Regions from separate parts of the Homo sapiens genome. Here region 2 is linked to region 1. The links are contacts of gene promoters, found by promoter capture Hi-C in human tissues and cell types (Jung and others, 2019). All regions are on one chromosome and are shown on one strand. The core of a region is centred on a gene start or on the middle of the fragment in contact, and the rest is flanking DNA. Distances in the headings are between cores, read along the strand shown. Region 1 holds the start of SDC2 (syndecan 2). Region 2 has its middle 110 kb from the start of MTDH.

What was found. The method cuts DNA at HindIII sites, captures the fragments that hold promoters and counts their contacts. A contact is called where the count stands out against the background at its distance.
Region 2: a fragment that was not itself captured here is called in contact with the fragment with the promoter of SDC2 in region 1 in 1 of the 25 tissues and cell types used here (dorsolateral prefrontal cortex).

Annotation. Positions count from the first base shown.
Region 1 is chr8:96,490,296-96,496,871 of GRCh38, forward strand. SDC2 (syndecan 2) reads left to right here and starts at 3,518. Exons shown (of 5, transcript NM_002998.4): 1 at 3,518-4,036. The coding sequence starts at 3,977. The HindIII fragment of the contact is 18,592 bases long and covers 1-6,576 here.
Region 2 is chr8:97,533,132-97,539,506 of GRCh38, forward strand. No RefSeq gene overlaps it. Among named protein-coding and RNA genes, the nearest start is that of MTDH, 110 kb to the right of the region's middle. The HindIII fragment of the contact is 4,277 bases long and covers 1-4,169 here.

The DNA of each region.
Region 1 (6,576 bases), core at 2,268-4,767:
CTGCCTGCCTCGGCCTCCCAAAGTGCTAGGATTACAGGTGTGAGCCACCGCGCCAGGCCTGAAAATAGATTTTTTTGGATTGCCTGTAGATTTTGGTCATGGCCTCAGCTCACTTGCCAGTATTAGCGATGGCTCATTAATGGTTGGCTGGATGGATATCCTATTCCTCTCAGCTTCTATCATCTTTCAAGTGAATTTCATAAGAGCCAATCCTACCAAATTGATTTCTAGCCTGGACTCCTGGTAACAGTCCAGGGGGTGCCAAGTGGAAGAACAACCGAGAACAACAGAATGGCATCTTTTTTTTCCGCTATCCCCTACTCTGACAACTCACCTCAGGACAGAACACCTGTTTATCCACGGTTGTAATGTGGTATCATTTGTTACCGTAGTGACAGAGTCCGATGTGTCAGTTTAGGTTAAAAACTGTCTTTAGTAGCTTTCATTTCTATTTTTTCACTTGTCTGGTTCTCTTTATTTTTTATTTGTTTTTACATGTTTGCATCTTAATCTCTATGTTGTTTATTTTTAATATTTTCTCCTGAGACTCTTGAAGTGTGGTAATTATTCTTTTAGCAATCAATGAAGCTATTTGGGAAGTGATTGGTTAAGCTGTGCCCCTCAAAGCATAGCCCTCAAAACCTGAGGACTTGAAGTATATTTGCAAAGAACCTTTGGTTCTAGTCACAAGCTATACTTAGTGAATTAGATATACTACACAAAATTCTGCCAAATTTTAGTCCCCATCAGTTTTTTAAACATTTCCAATTAGCAAAACACACAAACAGGCCTACATCGTTTGCGAATTTAGACAAATCCTGACTAATACCAGCGGACCTCCCCTGACTTCTGTCCCCATCCCCACTCAGCATGGGTGACCTCTTTGTAGCCAGCTCTTGTGTAAGTGCTTTTTATACTGTCAGATTATCCTTCTTGCCACAGCTGTTAATAAATCTGAACACAAGATCTTGAATATTTGTTTTCATCTCCTTAATATTGTGTCACTCAAAATGGTACCAATTCCCTTATTATATATACTCTCAATGGAGTATTTATCATCTTTAAAGAAACAAGTCACTGAGCATCTCATCAACACCAAGAGCCTTGGGGTGTGCCTTCAGGGCAGCAAACAGATAATATCCCTTCAACACGTGTATCCACTTATTCATTTTTTATCACTGTCTGCCCAAGCTGAATCAGAGAGCATTCACCACGCTTCTTGTTACATGGGTGCCCCAGTAAACAGCAATAACTGTGAGAACCAGCAAATCAGTGGAGTGCACTTCCTGTTTTACTGGAATTCCAATTTATTTGATGAATACTTAACTGTTGGGGACAATGGAGGTGTGGCCTTGCCTGAAGGCTGGCGAGTAGACGAGGCCTCTTATGAGGACAGAGCTGGTATTTTATGGCTCTTTGCATGTATTTTGCATTGCTGCTTTTCCTTTGGAGGCCTTTTTAAGAAGTCTCCCCATCTCATGAACCTCTTCAACCCACAGACTCCATCTTAAAAATAAGGGCACTAGGCTGGTGGCTCACGTGTCTAATCCCAGGACTTTGGGAGGCTGAGGCAGGCAGATCACTTGAGCCCAAGAGTTTGAGACCAGCCTGGGCAACAATGGAAAACCCTGTCTCTATAAAAAACACAAAAATTAGCTGGTGTGGTGGCCTGTGCCTGTAGTCCCAGCTACTTGGTAAGCTGAGGTGGGAGGACTGCTTGAGCCTGAGAGGTAGAGGCTACAGTGCAGGCCACTGCACTCCAGCCTGGGCAAGAATGAGACCCTGTCTCAAAAAAAAAAAAAAAAAAAAAAAAGGCTGTGGTTCATTCTTTCAAAAGCTAAGTGGAGCCCACATTGGCACAGATGCCAGCTACAGTGTCTGTGGAATCAGAAGCATCATCTGATGTTACAACTTCTGGCCTATTGCTCTTTTTCTTCTTTCTCCTTTGCCTACTCTTCTATTTCTCCATATTACCTTTTTGTTGGCCAATGCCTTAGACTTGCTCATGAGCATTTGTAGGTTTGGTAGCTGGCACACAAAACCAAAGGAATAAGTGTCTCCAAGTTTGAGTTGTAATTCTCCAGTTAAATTTCTTTCTTTGAGATTTATTACAGTAATAGGTTACTAAGACATTTAATTCTCACTGAGGGTATGACTGTATTTTATTCTAATACTGAGTTGAAAAATTACCATGGCCTCATATCTATATATCTACATTGGTGTATTTTAAAGGCTCACAACTCTTATACGGTATAAATTGAGCTTTAGAGCAAAATTTATTCAAGATAATATTTATCATGTGTCTTTATGTACCAGGAATGAGAATACAATGGTGAACAGACAGAAAAGTCTCTGGTTTCCTGTAGTGGGCATTCCAGGAGCAGAATGGCGTCATAATTCATTTACTCTATAAGTCAGAGAGAAAAATGATGGCACGAACTGCAAGGGATTTGTGTGTAAAATTTGTGACAGTAAGAAAAAGAAACTGGAAGGGAATACGCATTTGCCATGTTCTATAATATGCCACAGACATTGTAACAAAATATTTCATGTCAGCTACTTCCATTTAGGAAATACATGTTCATTATTTTCTTCAAACTAAGAATTACTTTATCCCTCTTTTCTTTGAAGTTATCTTAAATCTGTTATTATTCAGGGTCTCTATCCAACTTCTCATCAAATTACCCTATTTGTAGCTTCCAAACGTTAACACCTATCTGCTAAAATGGAGCCTATAAAAAGCCTTAGTGGCATAAACTGTGTGTGAGGGAGAAATGGTATTTAAGCCCTTAATGAAGTTAGGAGCTTTCAAACTGTTGCACTTTGGGTTTACAGGATCCTTCCTCCATGTCCCTTTTTTGGGGGTGCGGAAGGATTTGGGAGAATGGGAAACACTCTCACTATATATTTATTACATTAATTATCTTCTCTTTTAAAATGCAATTTTCATGAACTGGCGATTTATGAACACTTCACATTGCTTGAAAGCATCTTACACTTTTTTTTTCCCTCAACTCACAAAGCAGTTTCTTTCTACTGGTCGAATTCTCAAGGCAGAAAAGCTACATACGTCTCTCGTTTCTTCACTAATTGTTCTCTAGAAAAGGGAAAGTGAAGAAGGGAAAGAGAAAAGACAACGGGGAAGAAAAGAGCATAGAGGAGAGAGGAAAAGTGGGGAGAGAAAGGAAGAAAAGGACTGAGAAAACGCAGGAGCCCTGGCTTGCCGGTGAGCAGAGCCGGCGCAGCCACAGCGCGGAGCCGCGGCGCCCACTGGTCCTCGGAGCTGCCAATCGGCGTGTAATCCTGTAGGAATTTCTCCCGGGTTTATCTGGGAGTCACACTGCCGCCTCCTCTCCCCAGTCGCCCAGGGGAGCCCGGAGAAGCAGGCTCAGGAGGGAGGGAGCCAGAGGAAAAGAAGAGGAGGAGAAGGAGGAGGACCCGGGGAGGGAGGCGCGGCGCGGGAGGAGGAGGGGCGCAGCCGCGGAGCCAGTGGCCCCGCTTGGACGCGCTGCTCTCCAGATACCCCCGGAGCTCCAGCCGCGCGGATCGCGCGCTCCCGCCGCTCTGCCCCTAAACTTCTGCCGTAGCTCCCTTTCAAGCCAGCGAATTTATTCCTTAAAACCAGAAACTGAACCTCGGCACGGGAAAGGAGTCCGCGGAGGAGCAAAACCACAGCAGAGCAAGAAGAGCTTCAGAGAGCAGCCTTCCCGGAGCACCAACTCCGTGTCGGGAGTGCAGAAACCAACAAGTGAGAGGGCGCCGCGTTCCCGGGGCGCAGCTGCGGGCGGCGGGAGCAGGCGCAGGAGGAGGAAGCGAGCGCCCCCGAGCCCCGAGCCCGAGTCCCCGAGCCTGAGCCGCAATCGCTGCGGTACTCTGCTCCGGATTCGTGTGCGCGGGCTGCGCCGAGCGCTGGGCAGGAGGCTTCGTTTTGCCCTGGTTGCAAGCAGCGGCTGGGAGCAGCCGGTCCCTGGGGAATATGCGGCGCGCGTGGATCCTGCTCACCTTGGGCTTGGTGGCCTGCGTGTCGGCGGAGTCGGTGAGTGGGCCAGGCGGAGGATGCGCGCGCCGTTTAGGGTGTTTGAAGCTACGAGAGGAGCCCGCAGGGAATAGGGGAGCGCCACCTGGGGAACCCCCAGTCCCCAAGTATACACCGGAGATCCGCTGGGACAAATGCGCTCGTCCGGTCACCCTTTCCCCCTCTTCCCTTCCTCAGAAAAGCGCTGCTCGCTGGCGTTACCCCGCGGTCCGCGGGAATGGGGGCACCGAGAATTGCGGTTTGGTCTAGCCGCAGAGGCCCCTGAAGTCACTCCCAACTTCTTCGCCCTCGGCGGGTCTTGCTGCGTGGTCTGGGAAGGACGGAGGGGAAAGGGTGGCAGGAGGGGGGAGCCTGGGTCGGGCCCGCGAGGGAACGGCTCCACTCCGCGCGCTCCTCGAGACCAGGGATGACCTGGAAACTTCGGGGTCCCTTCCTCCGCACACCATCCCCCCCGCGCCAGCTTTCCTGTTTGACTGCATGCAAGTTCTGGGGAGATGGGGGCCAGATTTAAGAGACCCGCGAGTGTCCAGAGAGAAAAGTTTGCAAAAGTTCTTTTGTTTGATGCTCCCTGCGGCTAGGGCGAGGTAACCGACACTACGTGGAATCGCAGTAGGCGATCCCTCAAGGGGATACTGGGGGAGGCACGGAACGCGTCCGAAAATGCTGGGACGCCGGCCACTGGATTCCCAGTCCTGCGGCGACCCCCTCCTCGTTGAGGGGTGGAGGTTGCACCGCGGGGCGTCAGGGACGGGAGGACATTTTCATAGGAGTTACACGGGAGTGCCGCAAGCAGGGCGAGGCGGGGTACGTGTGACACGGCGCTCGGCTTCGGGTCGCCTGGCCGCTGGGGGACAGAGGCTTCCCTCCCGCCACGCTCGCCCTCTCTGGCCCTGGCGGGGCGCTTCTGGGGCCGGGAGGAGTCTCGTCTCCGGCGGAGCGCCTGCCGGCACCCAGCTTCCCTCCCCCGCCCTGGCGGTGGGAACTTGATTTCTCCTTTTGGTCGCGCTTCGGGGGCTGGAGCTTGTTTCCCCACGTCGCCCAATGAGCGCCCTCTAAAGGGAACTGCCTCCTTGGCCTCCTCTCGTCCGCAGCTGCCTCCACCTGGGCGCCAGGAGCTCTGTCGGGCCAGGTGGAAGCTTGAGCACCCCAGATTTCGTCTGCAGCCTCAGTGCCCTCTGGGGTCTCAGGGAGTGCGGCTGTTTCTGGCCCTTCTGGTTCCCCACGTCCTCTCCCTTTGCCATTTAATAACGTGTCAATTTCTAATTAATTGAATGGTCTTTTCAAAGACAAATTATATCATCTTAAGGTCTTTTAGGTAGTTTTATGAGTTTGAGTCTCCCTCCCCCCCTTTTTTGTGCTGAGGCTAATTTAGGACTGGGAAACCTCTTTGGCATCGAGCGGCAGATGGACATTTTTAATCAGTGTGGGAGCCTCTGTGTGTGCTAGCAGATCCCCATACGTTCTTTGTGGTTGGAGAGCATGTAGAATTGGAAACTGTACAGACTACATGAGTATTTTGGGTGCTCAGGTTGTAAAATAGAACTCCCAGCCTTATCAGTGTTTCCCTTTGGCAAATGATGGTTTAATCCGTTGGTATTAGTTATCTCCCAGCCAGTTAGGATGAACTTTGGCTCTTTGTACACCAAAAGGCAGCAGTTCTCTTGTTTATTTCAGATGAGCGTTGTTGCTCCTCTTGTTGCAAAACAGGGCAAAGGGACTTCATCTAATAAATTTCAAGAGCCTGCCTAAAAAACTGCACATGGTTAAGGAGGCCCTTTTTTTTTGCTGAGTCTTATTCATGGATTTGCTAGGAAATGTTACTGTTTTGGGATTCTGGAGAAAGAATGTTTCTGTCTTCTGCTCCTCTGGGTTTTTGCATAAATCTACCAGTGCTCCTTAAGGAAGTTTTTTGGCCGAACTATATACCTGTCCTCCCCGGTGACAGCTTTCCCCTGAACTGTGTATCTTTGGGGTTCTAATATTTCTCAATTTGAACCAGAACTGGATGCTTTCCGAGTGAACTGCTTCATTGTGATAGACACTGTTTTCAGTAATTGGAAAATCATCCAAAAAGGGTGATTAGATATTTATAAAATGTCAACTTAGAGACTAGCAGAGAATCTTTGTTAGGCAGTGAGTCAGTCTTTCTAAATAGAAGCTGTTTCAAGGCCCAGAATGGCTAACAGTCCATTTAAATTACTTTTCAGTCTCCGTTTGTTTCATGTATAGCAGCAAAAATATAAATGAAGTCAAAAGACTGAATTTAAAAAAAAATTAGCAATTACAGAATATTATTTCCAGGACTTTGCATTTTAATTTGAAAACTGCAACTGTTTCCTGGGATTTAGAAGTAGTGATTTGGGTTTAAAGTCTCCCTTTAAAGGAAGAAAGGAAAACTGCCTACAGTTAGTGAATTCTTAAGTTTTATACTTAGCTCTGGGGGTAAAAAAGAGGTTCTCAGGAACTAAGGCTCAAAACTGCCTATGAAAAGGAACTGGTAGCTGTTCCTTTATGGATCCTGGAGGCAGCTGGGAAAGCCT
Region 2 (6,375 bases), core at 781-3,280, 1.0 Mb after region 1:
AAAGGCACAATGTACCAGAATCTCTGGGACACAGCTAAAGCAGTGTTTAGAGGGAAATTTACAGCACTAAATGCCCACAGGAGAAAATGGGAAAGATCTAAAATCGACACCCTAACATCATAATTAAAAGAACTAGAGAAGCAAGAGCAAACAAATTCAAAAGCTAGCAGAAGACAAGAAATAACTAAGATCACAGCAGAACTGAAGGAGACAGAGACACAAAAAGTCCTTCAAAAAAATCAGTGATTCCAGGAGCTCGTTTTTTGAAAAGATTAACAAAATAGACCGCTAGCCAGACTAATAAAGAAGAAAAGAGAGAAGAATCAAATAGACACAATAAAAAATGATAAATGGGAGATTACCACTGATCCCACATAAATACAAACTACTGTCAGAGAATACTATAAACTCCTCTATGCAAATAAACTAGAAAATCTAGAAGAAATGGATAAATTCCTGGACACATACAGCTTCCCAAGACTAAACCAGGAAGAAGTTAAATCCGTGAACTGACAAATAACAAGTTCTGAAATTGAGGCAGTATAATTAATAGCCTACCAACCAAAAAAAGTCCAGGACCAGACAGATTCACAGCTGAATTCTACTATAGGTACAAAGAGGAGCTGGTACCATTCCTTCTGAAACTATTCCAAACAATAGAGAAAGAGGGATTCCTCCCTAACTCATTTTATGAGGCCAGCATCATCCTGATACCAAAACCTGGCAGAGACACAAGAAAAAGAGAAAATTTCAGGCCAATATCCCTGAAGAACATCGATGCAAAAACCCTCAATAAAATACTGGCAAACTGAATCCAGCAGCACATCAAAAAGCTTATCCACCATGATCAAGTTGGCTTCATCCCTGGGATGCAAGGCTGGTTCAACATACACAAATCAATAAACATAATCCATCACATAAACAGAACCAATGACAAAAAACACATGATTATCTCAATAGATGCAGAAAAGGCCTTTGATAAAATTCTACACCCTTTCATGCTAAAAACACTCAATAAACTAGGTATTGACAAAATTCAACAGCCCTTCATTCTAAAAACACTCAATAAACTAGGCATTGATGGAACATATCTCAAAATAATAAGAGCTACTTATGACAAACCCAGAGCCAATATCATACTGAATGGGCAAAAGCTGGAAGCACTCCCTTTGAAAACCAGCACAAGACAAGGATGCCCTCTCTCACCACTCCTATTCAACATAGTATTAGAAGTTCTGGCCAGGGCAACCAGGCAAGAGAAAGAAATAAAGCGTATTCAAATAGGAAGAGAGGAAGCCAAATTATCTCTGTTCGTAGATGACATGATTGTATATTTAGAAAACCCCATCATCAGGCTGGGCACAGTGGCTCTCACCTGTAATCCCAGCACTTTGGGAGGCCGAGGCAGGCAGATCACGAGGTCAGGAATTCGAGACCAGCCTGGCCTACATAGTGAAACCTCATCTCTACTAAGATACAAAAAAAACCTCATCTCTACTAAGATACAAAAAATTAGCTGGGCATGGTGGCAGGCACCAGTAGTCCCAGCTACCTGGGAGGCTGAGGCAGGAGAATTGCTTGAACCCAGGAAGCAGAAGTTGCAGTGAGCCGAGATCGCACCATTACACTCCAGCCCAGGCGACAGTGCAAGATTCTGTCTCAAAAAAAAAGAAAAGAAAAGAAAAGAAAAGCCCATCATCTCAGCCCAAAAACTCCTTAAGCTGACAAGCAACTTCAGTGAAGTCTCTGGCTACAAATCAATGTGCAAAAATCACAAGCATTCCATACACCAATAATAGACAAAGAAAGAGCCAAATCATGAGCAAACTCCCAATCACAATTGCTACAAAAAGAATAAAATACCTAGGAATACAACTTACAAGGCAGGTGAAGGACCTCTTCAGGCAGAACTACAAACCACTGCTCAAGGAAATAAGAGAGGACACAAAAAAATGGAAAAACATTCCATGCTCATGGATAGGAAGCATCAATATAGTGAAAATGGCCATACTGCCCAAAGTAACTTACAGATTCAATGTTATTCCCATCAAGCTACCATTGACTTTCTTCACAGAATTAGAAAAAACTACTTTAAATTTCATATGGAACAAAAAAAAGAGCCCACATAGCCAAGATAATCCTAAGCAAAAAGAACAAAGCTGGAGGCATCACACTACCTGACTTCAAACTATACTACAAGGATACAGTAACCAAAACACCCTAGTACTGGTACCAAAACAGATATATAGACTAATGGAACAGAACAGAGCCCTCAGAAATAACACCACACATCTACAACCATCTGATCTTTGACAAACATGACAAAAACAAGAAATGGGGAAAGGATTCCCTATTTAATAAATGATGTTGGGAAAACTGGCTAGCCATATGCAGAAAACTGAAACTGAACCTCTTCCTTACACCATATACAAAAATTAGTTCAAGATGGATTAAAGATTTAAACATAAGACCTAAAACCATAAAAACCCTAGAAGAAAACCTAGGCAATACCATTCAGGACATAGGCATGGGCAAAGCTTCATGACTAAAACACCAAAAGCAACTGCAACAAAAGCCAAAATTGACAAATGGGATCTAATTAAACTAAAGAGCTTCTGCACAGCAAAAGAAACTATCGTCAGAGTGAACAGGCAACCTACAGAGTGGGAGAACATTTTTGCAATCTATCCATCTGACAAAGGGCTAATATCCAGAAGCTACAAAGAACTTAAACAAATTTACACGAAAAAAACCAAACAACCCTATCAAAAAGTGGGCAAAGGATATGAACAGACACTTCTCAAAAGAACACATTTACACAGCCAACAAACATATGAAAAAAAGCTCATCATCACTGGTCATTAGAGAAATGCAAATCAAAACCACAATGAGATACCATCTCACGCCAGTTAGAATGGCGATCATTAAAAAGTCAGGAAACAACAGATGCTGGAGAGGATGTGGAGAAATAGGAACACTTTTACACTGTTGGTGGGAGTGTAAATTAGTTCAACCATTGTGGAAGACAGTGTGGCGATTCCTCAACGATCTGGAGCTAGAAATACCATTTGACCCAGCAATCCCATTACTGGGTATACACCCAAAGGATTATAAATCATTCTGTTGTAAAGACACATGCATACGTATGTTTATTGCAGCACTATTCACAATAGAAAAGACTTGGAACCAACCCAAATGCCCATGAATGTTAGACTGGATTAAGAAAATGTGGCACATATACACCATGGAAAACTGTGCAGCCATAAAAAACAATGAGTCCATGTCCTTTGCAGGGACATGGATGAAGCTGGAAACCATCATTCTCAGCAAACTAACACAGGAACAGAAAACCAAACACCACATGTTCTCACTCATAACTGGGAGTTGAACAATGAGAACATATGGGCACAGGGAGGGGAACATCACACACCGGGGCCTGTTGGGAAGTGGGGGGAAAGTGGAGTGATAGCATTAGGAGAAATACCTAATATAGATGACGGGTTGATGGGTGCAGCAAACCACCATGGCACGTGTATACCCATGTAACAAACCCGCACGTTCTGCACATGTATCCCAGAACTTAAAGTACAATTTTAAAAAAAGATTGTTTCCACGTTTGAGTTATGATAAATAACAATGTGATGAACACTTGAGCATAAATCTTGGCCTGTCCATGAGGTTATTTTATTTGGATAAGTAAGAAAAATACAATAGTACAGTTTTTCACACCATGTTTTAATGAGATACCACTTTCTATTCTCCCCCTTTTTTTGACATTCCATGTCCTTTTATTCTTTGTGACCTTTCTTTACTGGGTGACTTTAGCAATTTCTGGATATGCTTTTGGGCTTCTGTCTTGTCTTATTTTGAAAGATTCTTCTGGGGATTCTATTTTCACTGAGTCATTTCAGTTGTCCTGGCCATTTGATTTGAGCTCTTAATCGAGAACAGCATTCTCTTGGTGCTGATGCAATCTCTTATTATCTTATATCCTATTATACTTTACAAGTCATTCCCCAGGATCTTTCAGTACATAACTTGGATCTTACATTTTCGTCTTCTTCTAATACCCTTGCCTGTTCAAAGCATATATTAAAATGGGTAGAAAACAGCCTTTACAACACAAACCTGCACTTTCTGAACTCTTTTTCCATGGGAAATCCTTCATGCTTAGAGAGAAAGTACAACCTTGTATAATTCTTTTAGATCAGAGTTTCACTGGGGAACATGGCAGAGTTACTGAGATTTGCACTTATTAGCATCCAAGTTGTAGTTAAACACCTTTCTATATTCAATGCTTGAGCAAAACAGGCCCACAGATCTATACCAGCTATCTCCCTATGGCTACGTTAAATGAAGCCAAATTTTAAAGTGTTAGAAAACACAAAAAGATTTCAAACATATCCAAGGGATTTCATTTCTTAAGAATTCACACTTTACTCTGGCATTTTCAGGATCTGAAAAAAAAATCAGTTCAGAGGCTGTTCATTTCTTTGTTTGTTGGTTTGTTTGTTTTAAAACTCTGTGATTTAAGGGTCAGTGTCCTTTAGAAAGCTCCAGGGGGCATTCAGCCCCCAACACTACATGGCTGCCACTGTTTCCACCACAGCTTCCCCATCCATTCTGCATGAGGGCTTACTAAATACCACTACAGGGACAGAGGTCCAGCGTGGTCCACAATCAGTCCCATCAGCCTGGCATTCAGCAGAGTTTTAGACAAAATCAATGTTTCTCTGCCCTGCTATGAAACCTGCATAAAGAGACTTCCCCATGAATAAACATATCTGATAAGATTACATAGATCATTCCACTGGGGGAAATTGAGGCTATTTAAAATGCAACCTTTCTCATCCTGCTGTAAACTCCACAGCATTCATTTTATTGAGAAAATGAACTTGACCAGGGCTAAAATGTGGCCCAAATGTATCTGGATGATTATGGTTGTGTGAAAATATTGAAATATTTACTAACTGGTACTGTCTGTTTACAGTACCAATATCTGTTTCCAGCATACCTGGCCCCGGACATCAGGCCCCTCCCTAGACCCCTACCTCCCCATGATCCAGCAACTGGTAAAGAGTTAGCATCTGGCACAGAAGGAGCCTCTAGCTCCTTAATCTAGCAACACTGGGTCAGGGTCCATTTTGATTGATGATCTAGTTCAGGAGTAATAAATATTTTGAATATCTTCTTGAATGGGACTAATGTGTCAGCTAACCTCAAAAAAATCATGGAATATGTGTTTACTATAGTTTTAGTGGAGTGTTATTTTATTCTCACCTTCAATTATACAACAAATGTTTATTAGGCACCTGCTCGGTGTTGAGCAGGGCACAGTCCTGGATGCTTACAATCTAGTAACAAAGAGAGGTAACTAAATAAATTTCAATCCTGTGTAAGAAGGCTACATAGAAGCAGGTACAGTGTGCTATGATAGCTCAGAGGAGAGGCCTTATACAGGTTTACAGGAGGAAGCAACGGTAAACATGAAACTTCAGGGGCAAGCCTACATAAGCCACGTTAATAGGGGTGGGGACAGGTGTTGTATGGGGAAGGTACAAGCACAGTAAACAGCCTACAGAAAGGCCTAGAAGCCAAAGAGAAGCAGGCAAGTTCAGGGAGCTACAAGGAGTTCCTTGGGGATGGACAGAGGGAAGTGATGAGAAAGAAGCTGTGGCGTTAAGCCGAAGAATGAACTGCTTTTTCCATCTCACAGTTGCATCTAAGCTGAGGATGCACTGTAATTGGCTATTTTCATCCCTGGGTATCTTAGAGTACTTGTGGTAGCAAGCTATATTCAAGCTTGCCAAGGTTCTGCTGAGCATTTGACTCCTAAGACTGCTCTGGAGGTCTACTAAGATCCCCCTGCATGGTAAACCCAACAGCTATGAAGAAGATATGCAGCAAGGGGCTGATAGTTCGTTCCAGGGGGACAGGGCCTCGCCAGGCTGATGGCTCCAGCATGGAGCCTAGCACCACAGGCACCCAGTGAAAATCTGTTGAATTAATACATGAATGGAGGCATGAATGGTAGGTAATAAGTGACAGTGACAGTTTTTAAGATGATGTTCTCAATAAGTGCATCACAAATACTTGACTCAGTGATCACAACAACTCAATAGTCACTGCTTCCATTTCAGAGTGATACTTTGGCCGGGCACAGTGGCTCACATCTGTAATCCCAGCACTTTGGGAGGCCAAGACAGGAGTTTTGAGACAAGCTTGAGCCCAGGAGTTTTGAGACAAGCTTGGGCAACATAAGGAGATCCTGTCTCTACAAAACATTTTAAAATTAGCCAGATATGGTGGCACATACCTGTAGTCCCAGTTAGTCAAGAGGCTGAGGTGGGAGGATTACTTGAGCCCAGGAGTTGG